Linked DNA regions of Homo sapiens: all the other regions are linked to region 2. The links are contacts of gene promoters, found by promoter capture Hi-C in human tissues and cell types (Jung and others, 2019). All regions are on one chromosome and are shown on one strand. The core of a region is centred on a gene start or on the middle of the fragment in contact, and the rest is flanking DNA. Distances in the headings are between cores, read along the strand shown.

Region 1 (3,214 bases), core at 461-2,960, 690 kb after region 2:
ATTACAGGCGTGAGCCACCATGCCCAGCCTCAAAATAATTTTTATGCCACAGTGGTTTATTCTAGACGCTTCCATAGTCATCAGGTGATATTTTGAAAAATAGAACTATGTGCGTCAGTTGATCTACAGGAAATAGTTTAACAGCCCTAAACAGAACACATGATTTTTTAACCTGTAAGTTTCCTCAGAATGTTGCTCTGTTGCCCAGGCTGGAGTGCAGTGGCACCATCAAGGCTCACTTCAACCTCGACTAAAGGAATTTTTTTTTTTTTTTTTTTTTTTTTTTTTTTTTTTTTTTTTGAGACGGAGTCTCGCTCTGTCACCCAGGCTGGAGTGCAGTGGCGCCTTCTCGGCTCATTGCAACCTCTGCCTCCCGGGTCCAAGAGATTCTCCTGCCTCGGCCTCCTGAGTAGCTGGGATCACAGGCACACGCCACCACCCCTGGCAAATTTTTGTATTTTTAGTAGAGATGGAATTTCGCCATGTTGGCCAGGCTCCTGACTTCAAATGATCTGCCCGCCTCAGCCTCCCAAAGTGCTGGGATTACAGGCTTGAGCCACCGTGCCCAGCCACCCCCTATTTTCTTCTAATTTTCTTTTTATAGTTGAGATAGGGTCTTGCTCTGTCGCCCAGGCTGGGGTGCAGTGGTGCAGTCATAGCTCACTGCAGCCTCGATTTTCCAGGCTCAAGCAATACTCCCACTTCAGCCTCCCAAGTAGCGTGACTACAGGTGCACGCCACCACGCCGGGCTTATTTTGTTTTATTTTTTGTAGAGATGGGGTTTCGCCATGTTGCCCAGGCTGGTCTCGAACTCCCGGGCTCAAGCGATCCACCCTTCCTTCCCGGCCTCCCTAAGTGCTGGGATTACAGGCGTGGGCCACCGCGCCCGGCTGAATCAGGATTTTAAATATTCACTCTGCTTTTCTAGTCCTGTGGGAGATATGGTCTTCTCCGTAAAATTTCTCCCTCAGTCCTGGGTGATTTATTTCTTTTGCATTGAAGTGTGTGGCTTTTCGTGTGTTAGCAGTTTGTAATTTGTCGGGTAAAAGGAAAACTAGTAGGGCCTTCTGGAACTTAGTTATCTGTCTTTCTAGGACTTTTAGGTAATACCTTATAACCTTAACAAAGTTTCCTTATTTTATACGGACTTGTAAGTCAACAAATACTTCTACAGTGCCTATTGTGTACAAAGAATGAGGATTGCACTTTCACAATGAAATGAGGGAGGACAGGGGCCGATCTCTCAGATATTTGACTGATAAACCAGTACCTTTTCTAGTATATGCGACCATAGGGGAAATTCTCTCTAGGCTAGATAAACGGAGGAGTTTATTTAGTGTTTTAGCAAGCTTTATCGCCTCCATAGGTACAAATTATTTGCATTTTCTAGAGCAAGGGATAAGACGCGCCCTGGAATCTTTCCTTTTTGATGTGGATTTTCCAATTAGGAAAGGCTGCCCGTGAATAGTCTTTTCTGCTTGAGTGATGGCCAACACACTGGCAGGTTTGCAAGCTTTCTCTTCATGAGGGTCCGTCCACAGAGCTAGGTGACAAACGCTCAGTCCAGGATCTCTGCAGGTTCCTACACGGGAGCCGGAGAGCGCCTGCGCGTCGGAGCCTCTTTGTTGCTGGGGCGCTGGGGTCCAGCTGCGCGTGCGCAGTAGGCCGGCACCGACAAGTGCGCTGCACCAGTGGCACCGGCTGGGGGCGAGCCGACCTCGAGCAGCCGCCGCCGCCGCCGTCGTTGCTACTGCCGCAGCGGAGTTCAGAGGGCCCGGAGGTGGGAGACTTCCCACACGGTGACTGAGATGTCGTCCACTGCGGCTTTTTACCTTCTCTCTACGCTAGGAGGATACTTGGTGACCTCATTCTTGTTGCTTAAATACCCGACCTTGCTGCACCAGAGAAAGAAGCAGCGATTCCTCAGTAAACACATCTCTCACCGCGGAGGTGAGAGGGGTCCCCAGAACCCGATGACGGAGGTGGGGGAGGCTGAGGGTCCTTTGCGGCTCCGCAAAAGGCAGCCGGGTGCCAATCCCTGAGAGTTTGAGGAAGAATGGGGTTGTGTGAATTGAGGGCTCTTCCGGAGGTGAAGGCTGTGTGAAGGGAAGGTCTCCTGAGGGGAGGGAAGGAGAGGGATTCCCGGTCAGAGCCACGGCGGGGGTCTCTCGAGGGCAGCAGTGTGAGGGGTTCTCTGAAACGGGAAAGACACGGTCGAGAATGAAGGGTAGGTGGAGCGTTTCTCGGCGGATGGAAGGATGATCGCAAGGTCCCTTCCTAGCAGCAAGACACAAAGGGGGAGCGCCGTGCAGAACCGAGGGTACCCCGCGGGGGGCACCGGGAGCACACTGCTCCGAGCGAGCTAGTGGCTGAGTGGATGGGAAGAGCCGAGGCGACGAGGAGGGCTGGGGATTTGCATGAAGCTGGACGAGCTGTAACCCCTTGTCTGCGGTGCTGGGGGCCCGTCCCACCCCCACGTTCCGAGCACTCATAATTGAGAAGAGAGGGAAACCGAGTCCCCCGAGCCAGGGACATTTCCCAAGGTCACAATTAGAGCTAGGGCTGAACTGAGACAGGAGCTACAGCGTCCTGGTCCTCAGGGCTGGAAACCTTGCATCTTTTTTTTTTTTTTTTTGAACACTGCAATAAATAAATAAATAAATAAATAAATAAATAAACACGCAAAGACACGTGGATTTTCAACAGACTAAAAATGATTTCGTTTAGGACAGGACAGTATTGTTTAAAGAAAACAAAAATAAGTTTCTTTTGGAAAAGTGTTTTGCTAAAAGGAGCCCAGGTAGTCCACCCTCTAATTTCCCAGATAACAGGCCAAATCTTTGCTTCTTCATTATTGTGTAATAATGTGTCTTCATTGCATTTCAACTATGATGTATAAAGTGCGGTGAAATTGGATTATTTTCAATCAATTTTAACTGTTCTTTAAGGCTGAATCTTAAACCGGTTTAAAATTTGCTTGAAATTTAATACACACTTGAAATGATAATTTCTAGGAGTTTACAGTCTAAAACTTGGTGTAGTACCATAATCACTTTACTAACAAGTATTGGCCAAGGAAAAAGGTTTTGAAATATAAATACGGAAGTACATTATCATTCTTCTATATAATTTTATTAGTTAAGCATAGTTCTAATGAGTGACTTCAATAGTATTCTAGCCTTCCCACTCATGAAAAGCCTCAGAGGTTTTAAA
Region 2 (2,896 bases), core at 74-2,573:
GGCCCTTCCTTGCCTCCCAGCGAGGCTGGGGAGAGAAAGCACTCCCAGATGATAGATACCTTAAGCTGCTTTGAACCTGAGAAGAGAAGGTGCATCCCAAGTCACAGGATGGTCATTAATGTTGGCCTGTCATTCTTTTCACATGTAAATTTAAACCCCCTGGCATAGCTGGGTTGGGGGGGTCTCCCCCACTGATTCCCAAAGCAGCTAGGACACTGACCTCCTTTGACAAAGAGACCCTCATAGAGGAGTCTGATCTGAACCAGTCAGCCTAAGAACTTGGCTGGCTTGAGGGCAGGGGCCTGAGGATGGGGACTTTGGTGATGGTGGTTGGGGTGGAGGGGGGTGTGTCTTTAATTAGAGAAGAACAGTGTGGCCTCGGACAAGCCGAAAGCACCAAGACCTCAGCTGAACTGAAGTTAGTGTGTGGCAGAAAAAGCCCCTCTAGCCCCTGCTGGGCTTGGCACTGGGGACAATCAGTGCTTCCCTAGGCTTCCATCCCTAGAACAATCAGTCCATCCATCCACCATGTGGGGAGAAGTGGGGGAAAGGAATAAGGACAGGCCTCTCTCAGGAACCCCCGTTGGGGGAAGGTCACAGGGTCACCAAGACTTCCTGGCCAAGGCTTGGGCCTCTGCCTGGACACAGCTTGAGAGACAAGAGCCCAAAAGGTTGGCCCTACCAAACCTGAAAGCTTCTGATCCCAGGGGGCCCAGGGAGCTCCCTTCTGGAGGCTGCCCACAGCCAACATCCCGCCCCACAGGCTGGTCAGTGATCCCCCCCTGCTGTAAACAGTTTGTGTCCCCCAATGCAGAGGGCAAAGGCTGTGGGGCTTCCAGACTGAGAGGAGAGGACGGTGTGTGGCCTAGAGGTCCTGACACCCTTACGTTATTTGTGGCAGGCTCTGGCAACAATGTCAGGAGAAGAGATTACATCTTCAGAGCCAAGCATCAAAAACTTCCTACCTGGGCACCTCCAGGGAGGCTGGCTGGGGTTACTGTTTCTCTTCCCACTACAGGCAGGTGGCAGGGATGGGTGCCCCCACCCCCACACACTGCAGAGGGACCTGGCTGGTGGGGAGGGAGCGGGTAGATGCAGCAGGAGGAAGCTTTCCCATGGTTCCTGTCCCAGGGGCAGAAGGATATAGCTAATCCCACCGGGCAGGATGGTGGGCTGGGCCTCCCCCTCTCTGGGGTCCCTTTGGGAAAGGGCCAGGGACTGCCCCTTGTCAGGCTGAGGGAAGGAGGGGCCAAGCGTCTTACCATCCCTCCTGGTGAGGCAGGCAGTGTTTGTGGGCCTCCTCTGCGTTTTCCAAATGAAGTTGGTACTGGCCCCTGTGCCCAGGGTAGGTGGGTGAGGAGGGGTTACTCAGGTAAAAGCTGACCCAGGCGAGGATGGGGACCCTCACCTCCGCTTATTACTGATGCGCCTTCCCCAGCCCAACAAGCGCGTCTCCACCAGCGGGCACCTCCCTCAGCACGGACCCACCCCTTCGTCCTAGAGCGCAGGCATCACCCAGGGGTTGGCGCCCACTCCGTGGCTGCTCAGAGGGAAAAACTTGGGAGCAGCGACGCACCGCCGCCCGGCAGCAGTGCCAGCCTGTGCCCGGGGCCGGCGACGGCGCCTCCCACCCTGCACAGCCGCGGCTGCGGTGCCGCGGGTCCCCTTGCAGCCGCCCGGGAGCGACCGGCCCTGCGCACCCCAGCCCTGCCCCGCGCCCGCCCGCCTGCCTGCCTGCCTTACCATGGCTGCAGCCCGGGCGGGGCCGGCTCCGCCTGGACAGCGCCCGAGCGACCCGCGGCGGAGCTGCGCGCCGACCTCGCAGCACCGCCGTCACCCTCCCGCCTCCCCGAGTGCGGACCGCTGCGGGAGGGGCCCGGCGGCGGGGGCGGAGCGAGTCGGCCCCGGGGCGGGGCCTGTACCTCAGCTGCTAGCGGTGCCGGCGCGAAGTGGGTCGGGGTGCCCAGCTGGGGGCCGGCCTCGCAGCCCGCGACCCCCGGATGCGCAGAGTATGCAGAGTCACCCAGGACAGAGCGGGGAGCCTCAGCTCCTCGTCCCCGGGCTGCACTGGACACCTGGCTCTTTTTTACTCAGCTCCAGAAGCACCGCGGGGGCTTGAGCCAGTTCCCAAAGAAAAAGGAACGGCCCACCTGACATCCCCAGAAGGAGACGCCTTTGGAAGGGAGGGGGAGTTGCTGCATGAGTTGGAGAGAAACCATTAGTTACCGCAGGGATTCAACAAGGTTTTCACAAAGTGAATCCGGCTGATGCCCAAGTTACTGATCACTACACCTCCTAAAGGGGAATGTCAGATATTCTCCACCTCCACCCGAGCTGTGAAGGGGCAGGTTAGAGGCAGGTTCCCTTCATGCAGTACCCCAGATTACAGATTAAAGAGGATTTGCTGCACAAATTATCCAGGGATCATCTGCTGGAAGGATAGAAGGGAGAGGCTGAGTGGCTTTAACAGGGCGGTGTAGCCTTGCCTGTGGCTGAGGACAGTGGGGAGGGCCTCAGGAGAGGCCAACCCAGGCGTGACCCAGGCCCAGCTGGGCCACTCTTCCTCTGACAAGCAGGTGAGATGCCGAGGGGACAGATGCCCCAGAAGCTTTAGAGGCATTAGAGGCTCAGAAAGGTCAGAGCAGCAGCTAGGGGAAGGCAGATGCTTGGTGAGTGGGGTGTTGGTGAGGGATTCCCTGAGCTAAGTAGGGTCTGAGCTGGTCAGGCTCCTGTGGAAGTTTCCAGAAGCATGTCCCTTCCTGACCCGCAAGACCCCTCTCTCAATGGCAGGCTGACTGGCTTCTGCCTGAATACACTCTGGACAAAACTGAGACCCACAGGCACGGCCCTCTCTGTTGGTAGAAGTGCCAGAGGCCTGCCTGCTGTATTTCAGTCT
Region 3 (3,093 bases), core at 160-2,659, 580 kb after region 2:
AAAAGTTTTTAACAAGAAAAAGGATACAATTAAACGTATACTTATTGTATTGTATACTTTGTTTTTATATTACTGACATTTACTTTCACTCCATTCTAGAATTAAACCCTCCTAAAACCAAGATAAGTTTACAAAACCTTTATAATACTTTATATGAGGAATTAAGGAGAAAATTACTCATTAATCTCATCATGACTCTGTAGGGCCAGAAAGAACCTGGGAGATGCAGATTCTGTAACCTGCAACGGGGTGGACAATAAGACTACTGAATGACTAGTTTCAAGTGGAATATCCATAACATAGTTACCCCTTACTAAAAAGCAAGGATTTCCTATTTCAGTATCTGAAAGGTTCAAAATTTGATAATGATTACACAATTATGTTCAATAAACAATCTTTTAAAATATATTCCTAGCCTTTACTTACATATCCTACATATCCCAACTATTTTAACTCACAGCTTACAAGAATCAGTTATAAAAAGAAGAGTTTGTTCTGGAAACTACACATGAGATAATATATGCTGATTCAATCTAGGAAGGAAGGGCAGAAGCCTGCAAAATGTGCCACTGAGAGGGAAAGATGACTATCCATTTGGAAGGAGATTTAGATCAGCTCAAGAACTCGCAAGGACTGGTGGCGAGTGGCAGGGTACATCCATCTGATGAATCTGCAGTTTTGGTCGGAAAAGGATGCTGTTTGCAAACACCCGGTGGGGATGAGTACCTGTGCCAAGACATCCTTGAAAACTCCAGGATACGCACCACCTGACTGCGGAACAGTGAGCACAAGACACCCGGAGCGCTGCAGAATGGGCACGGCATCCTTGGTACCGGGCCAGCCCTCTCCACAGCGGCAGGGGCGGGGTAGGGGTGCCCTACTGGAGGGAGGACATGGGCACGACTCCCCGAATAAAAACCGCTCATCGGGTGGGGGCGGGGACTAACCACCACCCTCACAACCCCCTCACCTCCACGCTCTGTTCATCCATTGCCTCCGGCTCTCGGCGGGGCCGCTGGCGACCCGCAGGCTCCGCAGTCTGACCTCTTAGGCGCCGGCCCGAGGTCGCCAGATCAAATCGCCGATAAAAGCCCGGCGCCCACGTCAGGGGGCTCTGACAACCGCCCCACCTGCGCGCCCCATCTCTTCAGGTCCAGCGCCGCCTACCCCCATTTCGCCATTTTTACCGGCGCGCCCGCCCCGAGGCGCAGAAGTAGGGCGAACGGTGGCCGCAGCTCCTTTCTCCCGGCTCAGCCGCCGGCCAGCAGCCGCGCCGGAACCTCGGCCCACGTGACGCGGGCGCGCGCCTATGGAACTGACGGTGGAGTTCAGCGAAGAAGGTGCCGCAGAGAATTCGCAAACACCAACCGTAACCAGAGCAGCTGGGGGCGCGGCGGCGAGAGAAGCTGCGAAGCGCATGCGCGCAGGACGCTGTGGGAGGGGAAAGGAGGGGAGGAGCGTGGAGCGATCGCCTAGTTCCCGCGTTGCGGGGCGCATACGAGACTTGGCGACTCGCTGCCTCAGGGTTGCGTGCCTCCGGCCCTAGCCTGCGCAGGCGGCCTGAGCTTGGGGCTCTGCTACGCCACCCACGCCCACCTTGGCGGAGGGCGGGGCCCCACGGCTCTCAAACTTGCGCGCCAAAGACGGAGCCACCTGGCGTACTGGTGGAAAGCGCAGACTTCAGAGCCACACCCGTAGTTAAGTATTCGGACTCTGAGATTCCAGGGTGGGGCCCAGGCCATCCGCGTTTTCACCCAGCATCGTGTGATTCGGCAGCAGGTGGTCTGTGGCCCGCACTTTGAGAAACCCTGGTGCAGAAGGTTCATGGTTAGTGGTTCTCTCTGGAAGGAACAGTCTAAGGTTTGTAGGACTTGCGTTCCACCTACCAAAGCTAATCGAGTTAGAAGGCTCCAAACTGAGGTGTCATTTCTCATTACGGTGGTGAGAGGACGGGACCACACACTGTGAAGTCTTCGTTCCCACATCCCACACTTCATTCTTGCCGCCTAAGTTGTCGCCGTGGGACTATTGAAAGGGTATCAGCGATATTCATCTTTCCTATAAATGGGATCTGCTTTCTACAGTTTCCTGCCAGATGTGTAAAGATTGCAAGAATTGAAGGTTTGTGAGACAAAGAGGGCATATCAAATTCGTAATTTGAATTTAATTTTTCCTGTATTTATTGCAAACAACTAATTATACTTAACCGACCTAGAGTGCACATGTAGAGAATCACTAATAATCTAGAAATAAGTTCTTGAATATCAGGCATTTAGGCTTATAGGTGGTGGGTAGCAACAATTTTTTTTAACTACTTGGGTCATGAACAAGATATAATTTAGAAAGATTAATCTGAGACTGAAAAATTCTTTCAGTAAGAATTATTTGTGGTCTTTGACCTACATGGAGCTATTTTTACGAAAATGGCCTCAGTTGTACATTTTTAAATGGTTGATGGTTAATATTATGAGAATTTTACTTAAAAGAATTATTTATAGAATGCAGTGCTAGGCCTGGCGTGGTGGCTCACACCTGTAATCCCAGCACTTTGGGAGGCCGAGGCTGGCGAATCACCTGAGGTCGGGAGTTCGAGACCAGCCTGACCAACATGGAGAAACCCCGTCTCTACTAAAAATACAAAATTAGCCGGGCGTGGTGGCGCATGCCTGTAATCCCAGCTACTGGGGAGGCTGAGGCAGAAGAATCGCTCGAACCCAGGAGGCGGAGGTTGCGGTGAGCCGAGATCGCGCCATTGCACTCCAACCTGGGCAACAAGAGTGAAACTCCGTCTCAAAAAAAAAAAAAAAAAAAATGCAATGCTGTACTTGGGATTCAGAGTAATGAGAAGTGGCCCTTGCTCTCAAGGAGCAGTACAGAAGACAAATAAGACAAATTGCAATACTTACATGATAAATAGTTAAGATTCTTGTATGTTTGCCGAAGAACCTAAGAATGTCGAAGGACTTATTGCACCAATTCATAATAGCGAACAATTAGAAACCTGTACAGCTGATTAGAGGCCGTTGGTTGCAAGCAAAAAGGATAACTTGAGCAAAATAAATAATTTAGTTGGCAAGATGCTAAACTCACATC
Region 4 (2,946 bases), core at 150-2,649, 620 kb after region 2:
TTTTTTTTGAGACGTTGTCTCTGTCGCAAGGCCGGAGTACAGTGACGCGATCTCGGCTCACTGCAACCTCCGTCTCCCAGGTTGAAGCGATCCTCCTGCCTCAGCCTCCCGAGTAGCTGGGACTACAGGCGCGTGCCATCACACCCGGCTAATTTTTTTATTTTTAGTATAGACGGAGTTTCACCATGTTGGCCAGGGTAGTCTCAATGTCTTGACCTCTTGATCCGCCCGCCTCGGCCTCCCAAAGTGCCGGGATTACAGGCGTGAGCCACCGCGCCCGGCCAATCGTATTTAACAGACAAGCAAACAAACAAAAAAAGACAGGAGCTCAGTGGCAGGCGCTTCCTCCAAAGTCCAGGTTTTTAAGGAAAGCAGCCCAACCTGGGAAAAAAAAAAAAAAAGAAAAGAAAAGAAAAAAAAGATAATGCTGAACGAAAAGGGCTGAAGACAGAACAAGGACACTAAGAGGAAAAAAGCGCGGGCGATCAAGCTGGTAATCTAAGGATGGGAGGGAGGGAATAAAGAGAACAAGTGAGGGACGGATCCTTAAAGAAAACTAGGACAGCCCCCCAGCTGGGCGCCCCCCGAGCAGGCCAAACACGCCAGCAACAACGGGAGTGCTTTCCAATTCTTCGCCCCCGTTTTCTACTTTCACAGATGAATGAAAGTGCACAACTCCAGAGCAGGATGCCTTTCCTGTCTCAATCCCGCCCGCGCTCCGGGAGCGGAGCTCGTGGTTACGATCCCCTTCGCTCACACCTCTTCCCTCACCCACGGTTTGCCACCTCCGGATCAAACAGAAACGGGTTCCTTGGCCGTTAGGAAGTTGTGCATACAAGTCTAGCATCCTTTCTCAGACTTTCTCGGCCCGCCTTTTAGAACGTGAGCGGGTTGGCCCTACAGGGATTTCTCCTCGCCCCCGTCAGTTTATTCCCCACCCCACCCTCCGTTCCCCTTTCTTGGAGTGTGAACCACCTCTCCCTTCTTGGGACGCTTAGGGACCGTTCCATTCACATCTTTTTTGGTACAAACACAGAATGCGGTCTGCACCCGGCGCAGTTTCGTAAGGGGTGTAAAGGTGAGGGCAAGGAACAAGGAATTCCAAAGGCCCCGCACCCTCAGCATCTCCCGCCATTTCCCTGACGAGTTTCCCGGATGTAACCCCTTACCCGAGGCGGTTTAGACACCAGACGGTGGCGGCTCCCTTTGGTGCAGGAGGAGGGAACTCGACTCTGGTCCAGCCTCCGCCGCCCGGAGTTTCCGGCGACTCCAAATTGTGCCCCACCTCCGAGGCCATGGGGGAAAAATAAACTACCCAGTAGATCTCCTTCACTTTGCACTCACCATCAGTTCCAGCTTATCGACCTCCGCCTCCATGTTGAATAGTTGACATTCCGCAGACCGCGGCGGCGCTTAAGCCGCAAGCCGTACTAGCACGGAGGGCCTCCATTGGACAGCTGTCACTCAACATCTCGCACTCATTGGCTCCTCCGTTCCACCGGCTCCCGCCCATTGGAGACTGGGTAACGCCCCTCTGCATGAGACACATTTTCCTGTTGGGCAAAGGCACAAAACGCCGCAGGAGGATTGGCTGCTGTGCAAATTTTTTTTTCCATTGGCTGCCCCCTCCTCTCTACTTTCAATTTTGTAGTTAGGGCTCTGCAGAGAAGAGCTTGAGATTGGTGCAATTGGAAGAAGAGCCAACCAATCACACCAGAGCTTCCACCGACAGCAGAGGGGACGTAACACACCTTCTTTCCCCTCCGGCTTTCCTTCCCCTTCTCTCCCGCCTTCTCCTTATTCATACCAGAAGCGCCTCAGCTCTGATTGGCTGGAGCTCTGTGCTATCTCAGCCAATCACAAGCCGGGCTGTGCTCCTACACCATCCGAAGAGCGAATCGTGCAGAGACCGTGTCTACGATTGGCCTCTCCCTGACAAGGATTTAATTTTGAATTTTTCTTTATGGCGTGGGAGAGGCCACAGCCCGGACTCCATCGACTCCCCCGGCTCTTAGACTAGTAAGTGCAGGAACGATTATTTCTTTGTTATCTGAGCTCGCGTCTTGAGTAGCTGGGCCTGTTGCTGCTTGTGTTTTTATGGTTTAGGGAGGTGGGGACTTTGGCTGGACACGAAGGGGAAATGGAAAGGAGGAAGGGGAGGTTTGGGGCTGGGGAAGAAGTGCTCGGCCTGGCTTCATCTTAACCATACTTCTATTTAATTAACACTTCGCAAGATACGTTTTGGAGCAAAGCATCTGCCTTCCTTTTGAACATTTCTTTACATATTTGCTGCTCAATGCAAGTCCACAGATCAGCGGCATCCGCATCTCTTGTTTGCTTGTTACAAATGCAAATTATCGGACTCCACCCAAATTTACTAAATCAGAATATACATTTTAACAAGATTTCCCTGAGTGATTTCTATGCACATTAAAGTTTAAGTTGGTACATTTCTTGACTGGGAATATTACTATGTTACTCGATATTGTCTGGCATGCTGTTAGAGTGTCAATTTTAAATGCGTGTCCTGTTTACTGAGTGCCTAATACTGTGCGGGATGAGACTTTAGGGAGCTGCAGTCTCTTTGGAAAAACAAGACAGAACAAAAACAGCAATGCTTAAAAAAAAAAAAGCATAAAACATAAAATTTAAAAAAAGCAAGTACCCAGAAATAGTGCTATGGGTGTTCAAGAAGAATCAATTGGACTGCTAATGGAAATTAAGTAATTGAAGGCTATTTGTGGAGGAGCGCAAGAGACTTCCATAAAAATGTGTTTTAGGAAGATGGCAATGAAATGCAACAGTCATTTCCGTTGCTGCTACAGCTTTGAAAGTACCCCAGAACAAAGAACTTTTCTTCTCTTTCTTTCTTTTTTTTTTTTTTCTTTTTTTGTGACGGAGTCTCGCTCTGTCGCCTAGGCTGGAGTACAGTGGCACAATCTCGGC

Evidence for each region. Contacts are between HindIII fragments. The study calls those that stand out against the background at their distance.
Region 1: the fragment with the promoter of GDPD1 here is called in contact with a fragment that was not itself captured in region 2 in 1 of the 25 tissues and cell types used here (H1 embryonic stem cells).
Region 3: the fragment with the promoter of TRIM37 here is called in contact with a fragment that was not itself captured in region 2 in 2 of the 25 tissues and cell types used here (H1 embryonic stem cells and heart right ventricle).
Region 4: the fragment with the promoter of SKA2 here is called in contact with a fragment that was not itself captured in region 2 in 2 of the 25 tissues and cell types used here (dorsolateral prefrontal cortex and lymphoblastoid cells).

Annotation. Positions count from the first base shown.
Region 1 is chr17:59,218,801-59,222,014 of GRCh38, forward strand. GDPD1 (glycerophosphodiester phosphodiesterase domain containing 1) reads left to right here and starts at 1,711. Exons shown (of 10, transcript NM_182569.4): 1 at 1,711-1,951. The coding sequence starts at 1,810. RefSeq lists an enhancer at 1,737-2,287. The HindIII fragment of the contact is 11,394 bases long and covers 1-3,214 here.
Region 2 is chr17:58,530,218-58,533,113 of GRCh38, forward strand. The region is part of intron 3 of SEPTIN4 (septin 4); the gene reads right to left. All of the region lies in intron 2 of SEPTIN4-AS1 (SEPTIN4 antisense RNA 1), which reads left to right. Among named protein-coding and RNA genes, the nearest start is that of SEPTIN4-AS1, 12 kb to the left of the region's middle. RefSeq lists an enhancer at 997-1,497 and a silencer at 1,595-2,044. The HindIII fragment of the contact is 6,319 bases long and covers 1-2,896 here.
Region 3 is chr17:59,105,471-59,108,563 of GRCh38, forward strand. TRIM37 (tripartite motif containing 37) reads right to left here and starts at 1,410. Exons shown (of 24, transcript NM_015294.6): 1 at 971-1,410. The coding sequence starts at 991. It overlaps LOC124904039 (a long non-coding RNA gene), which reads left to right and starts at 1,626. Exons shown (of 2, transcript XR_007065864.1): 1 at 1,626-2,121. RefSeq lists enhancers at 498-1,157, 814-863, 1,074-1,203, 1,158-1,817, 1,294-1,393 and 2 more and a silencer at 1,524-1,633. The HindIII fragment of the contact is 14,372 bases long and covers 1-3,093 here.
Region 4 is chr17:59,153,787-59,156,732 of GRCh38, forward strand. SKA2 (spindle and kinetochore associated complex subunit 2) reads right to left here and starts at 1,400. Exons shown (of 4, transcript NM_182620.4): 1 at 1,345-1,400. The coding sequence starts at 1,377. PRR11 (proline rich 11) reads left to right here and starts at 1,960. Exons shown (of 10, transcript NM_018304.4): 1 at 1,960-2,019. RefSeq lists enhancers at 1,188-1,427, 2,088-2,137. The HindIII fragment of the contact is 17,595 bases long and covers 1-2,946 here.